2 separate regions of the Homo sapiens genome follow, and region 2 is linked to region 1. Evidence: promoter capture Hi-C in human tissues and cell types (Jung and others, 2019). All regions are on one chromosome and are shown on one strand. Each heading gives the region's core, a stretch centred on a gene start or on the middle of the fragment in contact. The rest is flanking DNA. Distances are from core to core; before and after follow the strand shown.

Evidence for each region. The method cuts DNA at HindIII sites, captures the fragments that hold promoters and counts their contacts. A contact is called where the count stands out against the background at its distance.
Region 2: a fragment that was not itself captured here is called in contact with the fragment with the promoter of LOXL4 in region 1 in 2 of the 25 tissues and cell types used here (liver and mesenchymal stem cells).

The regions. Positions count from the first base shown.
Region 1 is chr10:98,265,330-98,271,210 of GRCh38, forward strand. It overlaps LOXL4 (lysyl oxidase like 4), which reads right to left and starts at 2,865. Exons shown (of 15, transcript NM_032211.7): 1 at 2,803-2,865. It overlaps LOC124902489 (a long non-coding RNA gene), which reads left to right and starts at 3,113. Exons shown (of 2, transcript XR_007062260.1): 1 at 3,113-5,859. RefSeq lists enhancers at 1,811-2,312, 2,313-2,812. The HindIII fragment of the contact is 18,964 bases long and covers 1-5,881 here.
Region 2 is chr10:98,166,705-98,172,585 of GRCh38, forward strand. All of the region lies in intron 4 of R3HCC1L (R3H domain and coiled-coil containing 1 like), which reads left to right. Among named protein-coding and RNA genes, the nearest start is that of R3HCC1L, 35 kb to the left of the region's middle. RefSeq lists an enhancer at 3,898-3,947. The HindIII fragment of the contact is 3,649 bases long and covers 646-4,294 here.

The DNA of each region.
Region 1 (5,881 bases), core at 1,615-4,114:
ACATTAAATCCTTAGAAGAGCAAGCCTTCAGTAACAATGAACTATTATTATTATTATTATTATTATTATTATTATTATTATTATTATTTTTGAGACAGATTTTTGCTCTTGTCACCCAGGCTGGAGTGCAATGGCACAAACTCGACTCACTGCAACCTCCGCCTCCAGGGTTCAAGTGATTATCTTGCCTTAGCCTCCCAAGTAGCTGGGATTACAGGCATGCGCCAACATGCCCAGCTAATTTATCTGTATTTTTAGTAGAGACAGGGTTTCACCACATCAGTTCTTGAACTCCTGACCTCAGGTGATCCACCCGCCTTGGCCTCCCAAAGTGACGGGATTACCAGCGTGAGCCACTACATCGGCCAACAATGAACTATTATTAACAGCTACTGTGACAGCGACGATAGAACCGTTGGTCTAGATTGGTCCCACCTCCTCTCTGTACAAAGAAGGAAATGGAGGCCACGTCCGATCTCAACTGCAAGTCCTTGGTACTCCTCTTTGCAGCCTTCTCTAGATTTGCCCCTTTTCCCTCCACCCACACTGCAGAGCCTAGATGCTCCCCTCTCCACTCCCTGAGGCTGTGCAGGGGCTGCCTTCCCATTCTCACCTCTGCAGCTCTCCCCCTCTGACCCCTCCCACGCTTCCTTTCCAGACTGAAACACTGTCTTCTGCATGTCACTCAGAGGCTTGTGGGGGCTCCCAGCTGGCTGTCCCATGAGCAGAGTGCTCTCCATTGTTTCCCATTCCCTCCTCCGTGCTCCCTGGAGTAGGAGGTAGACAGCCAGGGACTGAGCCAAACCACTCCCCAGATGGCAAGAAAGGATGGGACAGATCGGCCTCAGGTCCCTCAGCTATTAGGACCCAGTGGTCACATGGGTCTGGGCTGAGTGACAACCACACCTTCTCTACCACCCCCAGGAGTTGGAATGCTTCTATCTCTGCCGCCAAATTGTGTCTGGAGTCAAATATTTTCCTTTCTCTGAGTCTCAGCTGAAAAACCTGTAAAATGAGGGGGTGGCACTAGACAGCCCCCCTATCCGACATGCTCTGATGGGGCCCAGGGTAGGCTGGGCAGGTCTGCTGTTTGGCTCCTGGCTGAAGTCCCTGACACACTGAGGAGGTCTTGTTACAGGCTGTGGACAGTCCCAGGCCAGCAGCTCCTTCCTCTCCAAGGGACCAACCTGAGGGCATGGGAGGGCTTCTGCTGTAGGACCCTGGGGTCTGGGCCAGGGAAGCTCCCTTCCATGAACGCTGCTGGAAGGTGGGGGGACGGCAGCGGGAACCAAGAGTTAGATGCAGGGAGAGTCCCTCTTATTGGCCTTCCTGCCCACTATAGGCCCCCGAGAGCTTTTGCTCACACCAGACTATAGCCTTCGTCTCCCAGCCTCCAAGCCTTTGCTCTCACTGTTCCTTTCCCTCTATCTAAGACTGTTAAACTCCTACACATCCCACAAGGCCAGCTCAAATGCCACCCCCTCCATTAAGCCCTCCCACAAAGCCTTCCACAAAGCACATTGTGTGTTTGCTTCCTGACCCCACAACCAGACTCCACCTGTCTGTTCCCCTAGCACTGAGCACAGAGGACCAAGCTGTGCATCCTCCCTCAGAGAAGGAAGCGGCCTCGAAAGTGGCCGTTACTTTCCCAAATAAAGGAGAAGGGGACAGAAGAGGGAAGGAAGGTGGAAGGGAAAGAGGAGGGGAGGGAAGTGAGGATAATAACTATACATTTTAAAATACGGATTAAATACTTATCTCCATTTTACAGATGAGAAGGTAAGGTCCAGGGAAGTCAAGTAACTTGCCCAGCCAGGATTCAAACCCAAGCAGCCTGGCTAGACGCCGGACTCTCAAAACCACCAAGAATGGATGTTGGAAGAGGGGGAGGAGGAAAGGAAGGCCGGGAGCCGACTGAAATTCCACCCTGTTCTGGTGGATTTATGACCCAGGCCGTGGTGTGAGGGCACTGGGCAGGGTGCTCTTCGCTGAATGCCGAGTGACAGATCCAAGATCTTGCCAGCTTGAGGCACAGAGGCACCTGCTCCAGGTGTGCCAGGAGATGCTGGGACCTGGCCTGACCTAGCGCAGGTAGGGAGGGCTGAAGACAGCAAATGCCCGAGTATTCAAGAGAGAGCATGGGGGGTGCTGTCCTGAGGGTGCAGCAACTTTAGGATGGCTCATCCCTTCTCTGCCGTTGGGCAGCTCTTCTCAGCAGCCTCCTCTCAGCCCTGTAGCCTCCCCGGGGTTACTGACTCTGTGGACCTGAAGCAGTGCCAACAAATGGTCTCTGAGCTGTACCTGTCCAGGCTAGGAAAGAGGGGGCTTGAAGTCTTCTGCCCCCTTCCCTTCGGTGTTTCTGTCACACGCCGACCCCCCAACATAATCAGCTCCGGTCTGGATAGTTGGAGAGCCCAGATCAGCCCTGGTTCGTTGTCCCCCAAGTCGTAAGTGTGACATCTGAACCCGCCTTGCCCCTTCCCTGTCTCCTCCCTGGAAGAAGGCAGAGCAATGGTTACACACGGCGTGTACACAAACAAGACACGCAGGCACCCCTGAGGCCTGGGCGCACCACTCAGGGCGGGCCTTGGGCCAAGCTCCCCAGCGTGGTCACTTGTCCAGTTGGAAGCAGGTTGGTGAGCGACTGGAGGGCCGGGCTGAGGGTCCAAGGGATCCCCCATGCACCCTAGGCCCAGTCTCCAGGAACCCTCAGAGGCCTGCAGACTCACAGAGAGACAGAAGGACAGATGGGACAGCAAGAGGCAGACCAAGAGGCAGACGCGCGGCCAGGCGGGGGCTCACCAGATGGAGCGCGGACAGTCCGGGGCTGGGCGGGCGCCGCGGCGGAGCAGCGCTAACGGGCTCCCTCCCCGGGCGCCCTGGGGCCTTTTTATCCGCCTCCCGCCCGCGGCCCCCCAGCCCCGAGCTGGCCGCGGAGGAGGCCCCGCAGGCCCCGCCCCGGGCGGGCCTGGAGTCCGCGGGCGCCCCGCCCGGCCTTCCGCGCGGCGCCCCCCGTCGGGACACAGGCCAGGTGGCGGGGGCGCCCAGCCGCAGCCGGCGGGGCCGGGAAGTCCCGGGGGGCGGGGGGAGCGGGGGGGCGGCGGGGGGTCGCGGGGAGCGGAGCTCTCGGGAAAGGGCGGCGCTGGGCCCGCGGCTGTTTTGCAGGGAGGGCCGCGGCGGCCTCGGGAGTCCCTCTCCCAGGCAGTTTCCTCTTTTGCAGAACAAGGTAATGACGCCCACCTAGAGTCCCAGTCTGTGAGTCCTGGTGGGTGCCAGGGCCCCCGGCACAGCACCCTTCGCACGGGAGCGCCCGGCTGTCACAGGGGCCGAATCTCACGAGCTCGGTCACTTAGGACAATGTAGACGCCCTTTCTGGGAGGCCGGGGCTCAGTTCAGAGAGGTCGAGGTGGCGCGGTGCAGCGGTGCTCTCCTGCAGGAACAGGCGAGTCACCCAGAGTTTACTGAATACCGCCCCCCCCCCCCCCCCCGCCCTCCGTGTGAAACTCTGCGCTGCCCATTGTGCAGCTGGGAACACTGAGCCCCAGGCGACATAACTTGCTCCTCCAGGCAATACACAGTGAATGGGAGAACCCCTTCACAGAGCTGAATGATGCAGTCCTGGCCCTTGTCAGACTCACGGGAGGAGGGTGTTAGTGCAGGGAGCAGGGACTGTAGAATTAAAGAAATGTGGACATGGCTGACAGAGAGGAGTCCCATCAGCTGAACTGAGCACCTAGGTGCCTGAACCCCAGTCCAAGCCCCCAGTTTCTTTCCCCTAGACCTGGTCCTGCCCTTAGCCTCACTGGCCCCATCTGTAAAATGGGCAGAGGGTTCCAGCCTCCCGGTTTCCTCCCTAGGCCCACAGCTGCCCAACCTGGTTCCCCCTCTTGCCCCCACCTTGCCTAAACGTCCTTCCAAAGGTTCATTCATCCCACAAGCCTTTATTGATTTTCTCCTACATGCTAGACAGGGTGCTGGAGTGCTAGACGCTGGAGGGGGCCTTCCCAGTCTGGTGGGGGAGGCAGATGTGCAAGTAAGAATAAGCCTGGACAGGCAGAGTGTGATAGAGCTAGGATGTCAAGATGGACCTTTTCGATCCTGGGTGACAGCCAGGTCTTAATGACCCTGCTGCCAGGGACCTGCCATCCACTCCTGGCTGCCCGTGTCCAAGATGTCCCCCCAGTGCCCCTGCCCCACCCCAGCTGGGCCCAAAACATTCCCCATGATGAATCAGCAGGAAAGAATGCTCCCAGCCTCGGGTCAGTGGCAGCAGCCCAGCTCCTCCCCCAGGGACAATGAGGCAGCTGTGGGCTTGGGTGCCAGGTATGCCTAAGCCCTCTCCTAGGGCCCAGCCACCTCTCATGCTGAGCCAGAAGCAACACAGAGGGTTCGGAAACGTGGGCTCTGCCTGCTGCCAATCACTCACCAGGCCTGGCTGCCCAGAACTAAAAATACCCTGGAGCGCAGGGGCGGGCGGAGGATAGAGACCAGGGAATGAATGGATGTTGCCCGGAAGTCCTTTAATTTGCACAACTCTGGGCAGAGGCCAAGGCTGGGAAGCAGTGGAAGTGGGGATCTCTAAGGCATGCGCTGTGAGCCCCCAACCCTGAGAAGTGAGGGGCTCTGGTCCCAGCCCCAGCCCATGGCGTACTAACAGTGGGATTTTCTCGGCTGAGTTGTCATCTCCTCATCCTTAAATGTGATTGCTGTAGGGGTCAGATGGGACCACTGGATTCATCTCAATCAGCTTTCATTTGATTGAGAAAGCCCTCTTCTTCCCTCCTGCCTGGCTATGTTCACCCGGCCTCAGCCCAGCGCCTGTGACCCTCTCCATACTCTTTATATAATGGTCTGTGTCTGCCTTAACTCTGGACACCCCCACCCACCCCCGAGCTTCTTATTTATCTCTAAACCCAGATCCTGTCACAGAGCTTGACACATAGCAAGTGCTCCAGAAGTGCTCACGGATTGAATAAATGGACCTAGCGGTGCGTGCCAGTTTCTGGTCCCCAAGGTGATACAGACAAGCCAGAGGTGCTTCCTATCTTGTCCTCAAGGAATTTGCAGAGTGGTGGGGGAGACAGAGCCACAATCAACCAGCAGGACAAGGCATCATCACCATTATCATCATCATGGCTGGCTGGGGTCGAAAAACCGGTGGACAATGCTTTCATCATCTCCTGTTTACACAATGAAACTGGGACACAAAGGGGTTAAGTGACTTGGCCAACATCACACAGCTGTTATCTGCAGATGGGAGCAAGTGATCAATGACGGCGAAAGCACAGGGCTGTGTGGATGCTGGGCAGGGAAGTCTGAGGGTTGAAGCCTTCCCAGAAGTGCCTTGGAAGGTGGATCTGATACACTGGGTAGAGAGGGGGGAAAGTGGAGTGGTCAGGAATAACACTTTACGATGTTGTGGAAGCCGTGAAGCACCATGCAGGTGTCTGGAGTTACCGCAGCTCCCCTGATCCCTCAGCCAGTACCCAGGGACTTGGATGTGTAAGCATCACCTCTCCCTGCCTCCTCCCAGGGAAAGGAGCTAACATGAATCTCTTCCCCATGGGGTGCTTCTCAACCCTCCCTTCCTGCCTAAGTCAGGGTCTGTACTTTCCTCCCAAGTGGGAAGGCCAGAATCTCCTGCAGAAAGCGGTGGCCTCCAGGGTGCACCTGGTTGAACCCAGTAGTGACCCTGGTGGAGTGCCCAGTGCCCATGCCTGCTGGCAAACTTCCTCCTCAGCAGCCTTCAGGACTCAGTTCTAGCCTCATCTCCTCTGTGACTCAGTATGGAGGAAACTGTACAGCTTTAAAACTGGGCAACCTGAGTTCTAGCTCTGCTTCTGAATTGTGTGGCCTCGGGTAAGTTATTTTGCTGTGCCTA
Region 2 (5,881 bases), core at 1,220-3,719, 99 kb before region 1:
CTTAAGGGGAAGCTTCATTTTTACTCTCTCGGCTTACTGCAACTTCTGCCTCCCAGGTTCAAGCGATTCTCCTGCCTCAGCCTCCCGAGTAGCTGGGACTACAGGTGCGTGCCACCATGCCTGGCTAATTTTTTGTATTTTTAGTAGAAATGGGGTTTCACCGTGTTAGCCAGGATGGTCTCGATCTCCTGACCTCCTGATCTGCCCACCTCAGCCTCCCAAAGTGCTGGGATTACAGGCGTGAGCCACCGCGCCTGACCCCTACTTTATAATTTCTACTACCCCAGCAGTGATGTCAATACAATATGTGCACTTAATAAGTATTTGATGGTAAAAAAAAAATGCCATTGCCTATTGTTAGCTTTTACCCATCTTTAACAATTATCTTTCTCTTTGTATCATAAGAATACTAGATAAGAATTCAGTTTAAATACCTGAGCCATGTTCGTTCAGGACATGATTCTTCTTGAAAGCCTTCTGTAGCCCTGTGTACAGGCATTCTGTTCCTTAAAGTAACGTTGCTTTGAAGATTTTACTGTATTGTAATTATTTGTTATTCTTGGAACTCTAATGAATAAACTTTGAAACTGCATAGAAGAGAAACTCTTAAATTTATTAACTTGTTAATGTTTTCTTTGCCTGAAACTTGCTTTTGGTTTCTCAGTTTCTCACCAGGCACATTTCACACCTGCTGGTATAGCTCCAAGGAGGGAGGTGATAGATACGGAGCTGTAGCTATTTCTCTAACAGACAGACTCTACCTCATTTATAAGTATTCATTTTTGTTGTTACTGTGATTTGGTATTTTAAAAATTAAACTGTTCTGTGCTATGCATTTTTACAAACATACATACAAAATAAATAGCTTTGCTACAATGAACCTTTGGCTGTAGCCAGACTAGCATTCTGGGCTATGCATTTTTACCCCAACATAATTTTTAGAAGATATGTGTTTTAGTCTTACAGTAGTAGTTAGATGCAGGGACTTTGAAATCCAATCCACGGACTTTGAAATCCTATCCAGCACTTGGAAACTGTGTAATCTTAAGTAACTTAAGTTTCAGATTTTTCATCTGTAAAGTTGGGATAATAATAGCTACCTCTTAGTATTGTAGTTGGGATAAAATGAGATAACATATATGACACTTAGCTGAGATTGAGTCTGGTGGCTTCTACTTTCAAAATTTACCCAGTGGTTTATTAGCTTTACTCTGTGAATCTTAAAGAGGAAAAGAAATCAAGTTTAATGCATGTCAAGGTTGAGGTAAAGCCCCCAAAGCTTTATCCATTTGAGCTCCTTTATTGTCAACTATAGGATGTCAGTTAAACCCAGAATAGACCCAGGAGAGGAACTAATTTCAAATAACTGTAGAAGCAGACCAACCTCCAGATGTGTATTGAGGGAAAGAAGTTTTAAGAGGGAGTTTTTTTCTTCTCTCCCTGCCCCCTACCGCCAGTTACATATGCAGAGTAGGAAGCAAACTTTTCTCTCTACCTTTGTATTACATATTATATTGCCATTGTTCGGTATATTAAAGCTTTTATCTGACTGCCTTTTGAGGTGGTCAATAATAGGTGCTAACATTAAACTTGGAGCAGTTAAGTCGGTGAGCTGTGTGGTTACCTTGTCAGTGGAGTGTGAAAAAGACTAAGCTGCGGACTGTTTCCCAGCCTATAAAGCGTGAAATCAGTTGGTGCTGATGCATGACGACTATAGCCAGTGTAGTATAAAATAAGCTGGGGGCATGAATTGTGTTATGTCGTGAGAAAGACCTTTTCATGCCAGTTTATTTATATATTTTGGGACCTCCAAGATCCTACTGGAATCATGTATCTTGTATCTTTTGTTGTCTTGATACTCAGTTTTTTCATGAAATGTTTCTTCCAGTTGTGCAAGCTGTATTCTTTGTCCAGCTGCAGGCAGAGAGGCAGAGGCAGTAAATATAAATGTCCAAGGCAGAGGCAGACTAATATTAAAATACTGTATTATATTCTGTTTAAGATTGCATCTGAAAATACCATCTGCAGTTGGTATTTGATGTACAGGTTTCTTCTGTTTTAGACCCAAGATTTGAACGTATACTCTACATTCTACTTTGAGCTTCTGCCAGGGTGAGAACTGTGTTACCAGTTTCACTGGTTGGTGGTCCCATGTTGAAATGTGCCTCTGGAGAAGGAAAGTAGAGAAGGGCAGCATTTTCAAATGCTTGGAGGAGTTGGTAGGAAGAAGTATAGAGATTATTCTTATGCGGAATAGAAGAGAGGGTGTTCCTCTCCTGACACCTGGTGAGGTTCTTTACCATATGGCTTTTGAGGGTGAGGCAAGGTGAATGAGGAAGTTTCAGAGACAACAGTGAATTATTGTCAGCCTTTTTAAGTCTGGAAGGTTATTGGAAATAGGCATGCCATGAAAGCATTAAAGATCTTTCATTCTTATCTTACTTGGTTTTCTCCTTTTACGGCAGCAGTCTTTGAACTCTTTTTGGTTGTTTTGCAGTTACATGGATTCTAAGCAAATTGTGAATATTTATGAAACTAATGCATCATTGTGAGACCATTCTGCTGAATATCAGGCAGTCTAGTCTAGTAGTTAAGTGCAGGGACTTTGAAATCCTAACCAACACTTAGAAGTTGTGTGATCTTTAGTTATTTAAGCTTCAGATTTCTCCTATATAAAATTGGGATAATCATAGCTATCTCTTAGTACTATAGTTGGAACCAAATGAGATAATGTATATACAATGTTTACCACAGTCCCTGTCATGTAGTAAGCACTCTGTAAATGGTAGCTGATTATTCTTCTTTCTCTTCCTCTACTACTACTAAATCACTGCTCTACCACTACTTCACTTTTGCTTGTAGGGCCTAAACTGTAATGAAACAGAAAACACAATTAGACATGGTTCATCGCGGCAGATTTTGAAAAATATGTCATTGTTCTCTTGGGCATGGCTTAATAGTTCTTTCTTAACTAAGTAGAAACTATAAAAAGACTTTTTAAAATGAAAGATAAGAATCTTTGTCTTGGTTTAAGATAGCTTTGCAAATGAGTGTACAAAACTAGTTATTCTAAAATGTATTTGCTTAATGCAAATAAATCAGCCTTTATATGAGCTTAGGGAATATGTAAAACTAACAGCTCGAAGAATTGTCATTCCTTATTACTCACCTAACACAACCTTTTTTTTTTTTTTTTTTTGGAGTGAGTGCTTTTTTTTGGGAATTGTTTGAAGTTTTTTTCTTGTGCCAAGAATAGTCACAGTAGAAGTCTTGTCCAGTGTATGAGGCACATTTTTGGGGGAATGGGATGGAAAAATCACCCTGATCATTTATCCTTAATGGTAATGAGTATTAGTGTGGATAATATATTTGGATTTGATGTGCATTATGTGATTATTTCTTCAGCACAATTAACTTCCTGATTAAACTTTGCTCAGCATATATTGTGAGCATATACTCGGTGGAAAACTGATAATACTGCTATAATGGTGGTAAAACTGCTAGTTTAGTTGATAGACAATCTGGGTTCTGGTCTTAGTTACTACCACTCTAATAGTCTTAGATAAATCCCTCAACCAGATGATTTTCAAAGGCTCTTTTCAGCTATAAGCTTTTTGTTGGTTTGTTTTGAGACTGGGTCTTGCTCTGTCACCCAGGCTGGAGTACAGTGTCACAATCATAGTTCACTGCACCCTCAAATTCATGGGCTCAAGCAGTCTCCCTCCCTCTCAGCCTTCCAAGTAGTGAGGGTTACAGGTATGTGCTACCGTTCCCAGCTAATTTTTTATCTTGTTTTAATTTTTTAGAGACAGAGTCTTGCTAAGTTGCCCAGGCTGGTCTTGAACTCCTGGCCTCAGGCAGTACTCCCACCTCGGCTTCCCAGAGTGCTGGGATTGCCTGCGTGAGCCACTGTGCCTGGCTTCAGCTATAAGATTTGAAGATAGGTATGCAGGTGGCTTAGAAACTGGGAAATGTAGTAGTGACACATTTTGGCCACCAGAGGGTGAAGTCCAGTCATTGAAGTTGTGCTCTGTATTTGACCAGAATGTGGCATTCTTGGAAATGAAGAGGACACATTGACCCTCTGTTCATTTAGGTTAAGTCATAGAGCCTCTTGCTCTCTGATTCTGCTTTCACTTATTATCTTTCTAAAACTTTCTGGGTAGGGCTGGGGCAGATACTAAAGAAAGGAGAAGAAAGGAATAGAGGTATCTAATTGTCAGCTATTCATCCAATTTTGTTCTGTAAGATAGTGAATAGCTTTCAGATGACCTATGGGCAACCTTGATGGGAAGCACAATAGTATATAGGTCACCACACTTAATTATTTGTGGCCACCTTCCTTCCCCAAAACACATAGGCATGCACACAACACTTAACCCTCATTGCCTTCACTCTCTCTGAAATTCCAAGGATGAAAACAGAATGTCTGAGAAATATAGTAGCGTGAGCACAGCCCTTATAATTGTAACCAAGGTTCCAGTCTTGCATTGCCACTTAATATCTGTGTAACCACAGACATTACAATTTTGAATTCTCAGTATCTTTATCTGAAAAACTAGGATGTTGAATTCTGACCTATACAATCCCTTTCGGTAAGTCTAATTCCAAGGCTCTGTAAAAATTCTTTAATGTTTATTTGAAGGGCAGTGCTATTCTTAATACAACACTTTAATAAAGTAGTATCTTTAAACAATAGCATGTTCTTTTTTGATAGAAACAGAGCTCTAGATGTTGTTAAGGCATAGATATTAAAGAAGTAAACTATCATGACATCAAATAGAAAGACAGTTACTGCTCCACCGTGGCATTTTTTTGGCCCCATAAACAAATACAAACTAATTCTCTGTGAATATAGGCTCAGGATAGCAGTGGTTCAATCAAGAGGGGCCAAGACTAGGAGGAGCCAGGCCAAGCTGATTTCGGGTATAGTTAATAGTGAAACATTATGAGAAGAAGTCATTTGGGGATAAGTAAGCTTAGCAAAAGAGAGCATGTAGGTTCTGGGAACCTATGTCATGAAGCTGGAGTCAGAATCCATTTCTTCCAGCCACACCAGTGGAAATAACTTTGACACAACATTCGATTATACAAGTCCAAGTTGCTGTCTGAGAGCTCAGGATGATAAGATGGAAGGAACAAGGAAAGGCACGGTAGACAAGCTGAGATGAGTGTCTAGAATGTGATAGAGCAAATGGACTCAGAAGTGTGCTTGTGAAAGCAGGCAAGGATTAGTACTTACTATTATGTTTAATATGTATGCAAGAGAGTAGAAGCCAGTCAGGCTGACTGGGTAGAAACAACATTTTAGGATTATGTTCAAAAGATAATTTTAATCTGTCCTAGTTTTAATCGCTATCCTTGGTGTTGGTAGAAAAGGTCTATTTGGTATGTCTAAGGCTCTACACATGTTTGAGGCTAGTGATTATATCACTGACAAACTCTAGGTTGTTTGATGATTCTAATAGCTTTACACTCCACGGGATATACACGTATTCACAGATCCGCTCACTACTGCTGCAGAGTTCATTTCACAGAAATGAACTGGCTAGTAAAAAATTTGGCAGGCAAACTAGCTTTTCAAGTAGCTGCTAGGAATGGAGCCCAGCTATTCCCTTTGGGCTTGAGCTGTTGGAATTCATTGGGTTAGCAGCTAGAAAGAATGAAACTGTAACATTTTTAGCGTGGTTCATGACAGCAAAGCTGAGGTGTTAGGATTTCTGTTCTAGAGGTTTACACTGCAAGTAACTTAACTTGATTGTGTGTCTTAATATTACTGGGCTTCTGACCGCTGAAATATGGCTTGGATCGATGGTGGTTTGGAGAAAGTAGAAAGAGGGCTATCCATCATCTGGAGGCTCCATAGAAGCTGGCTGATAAT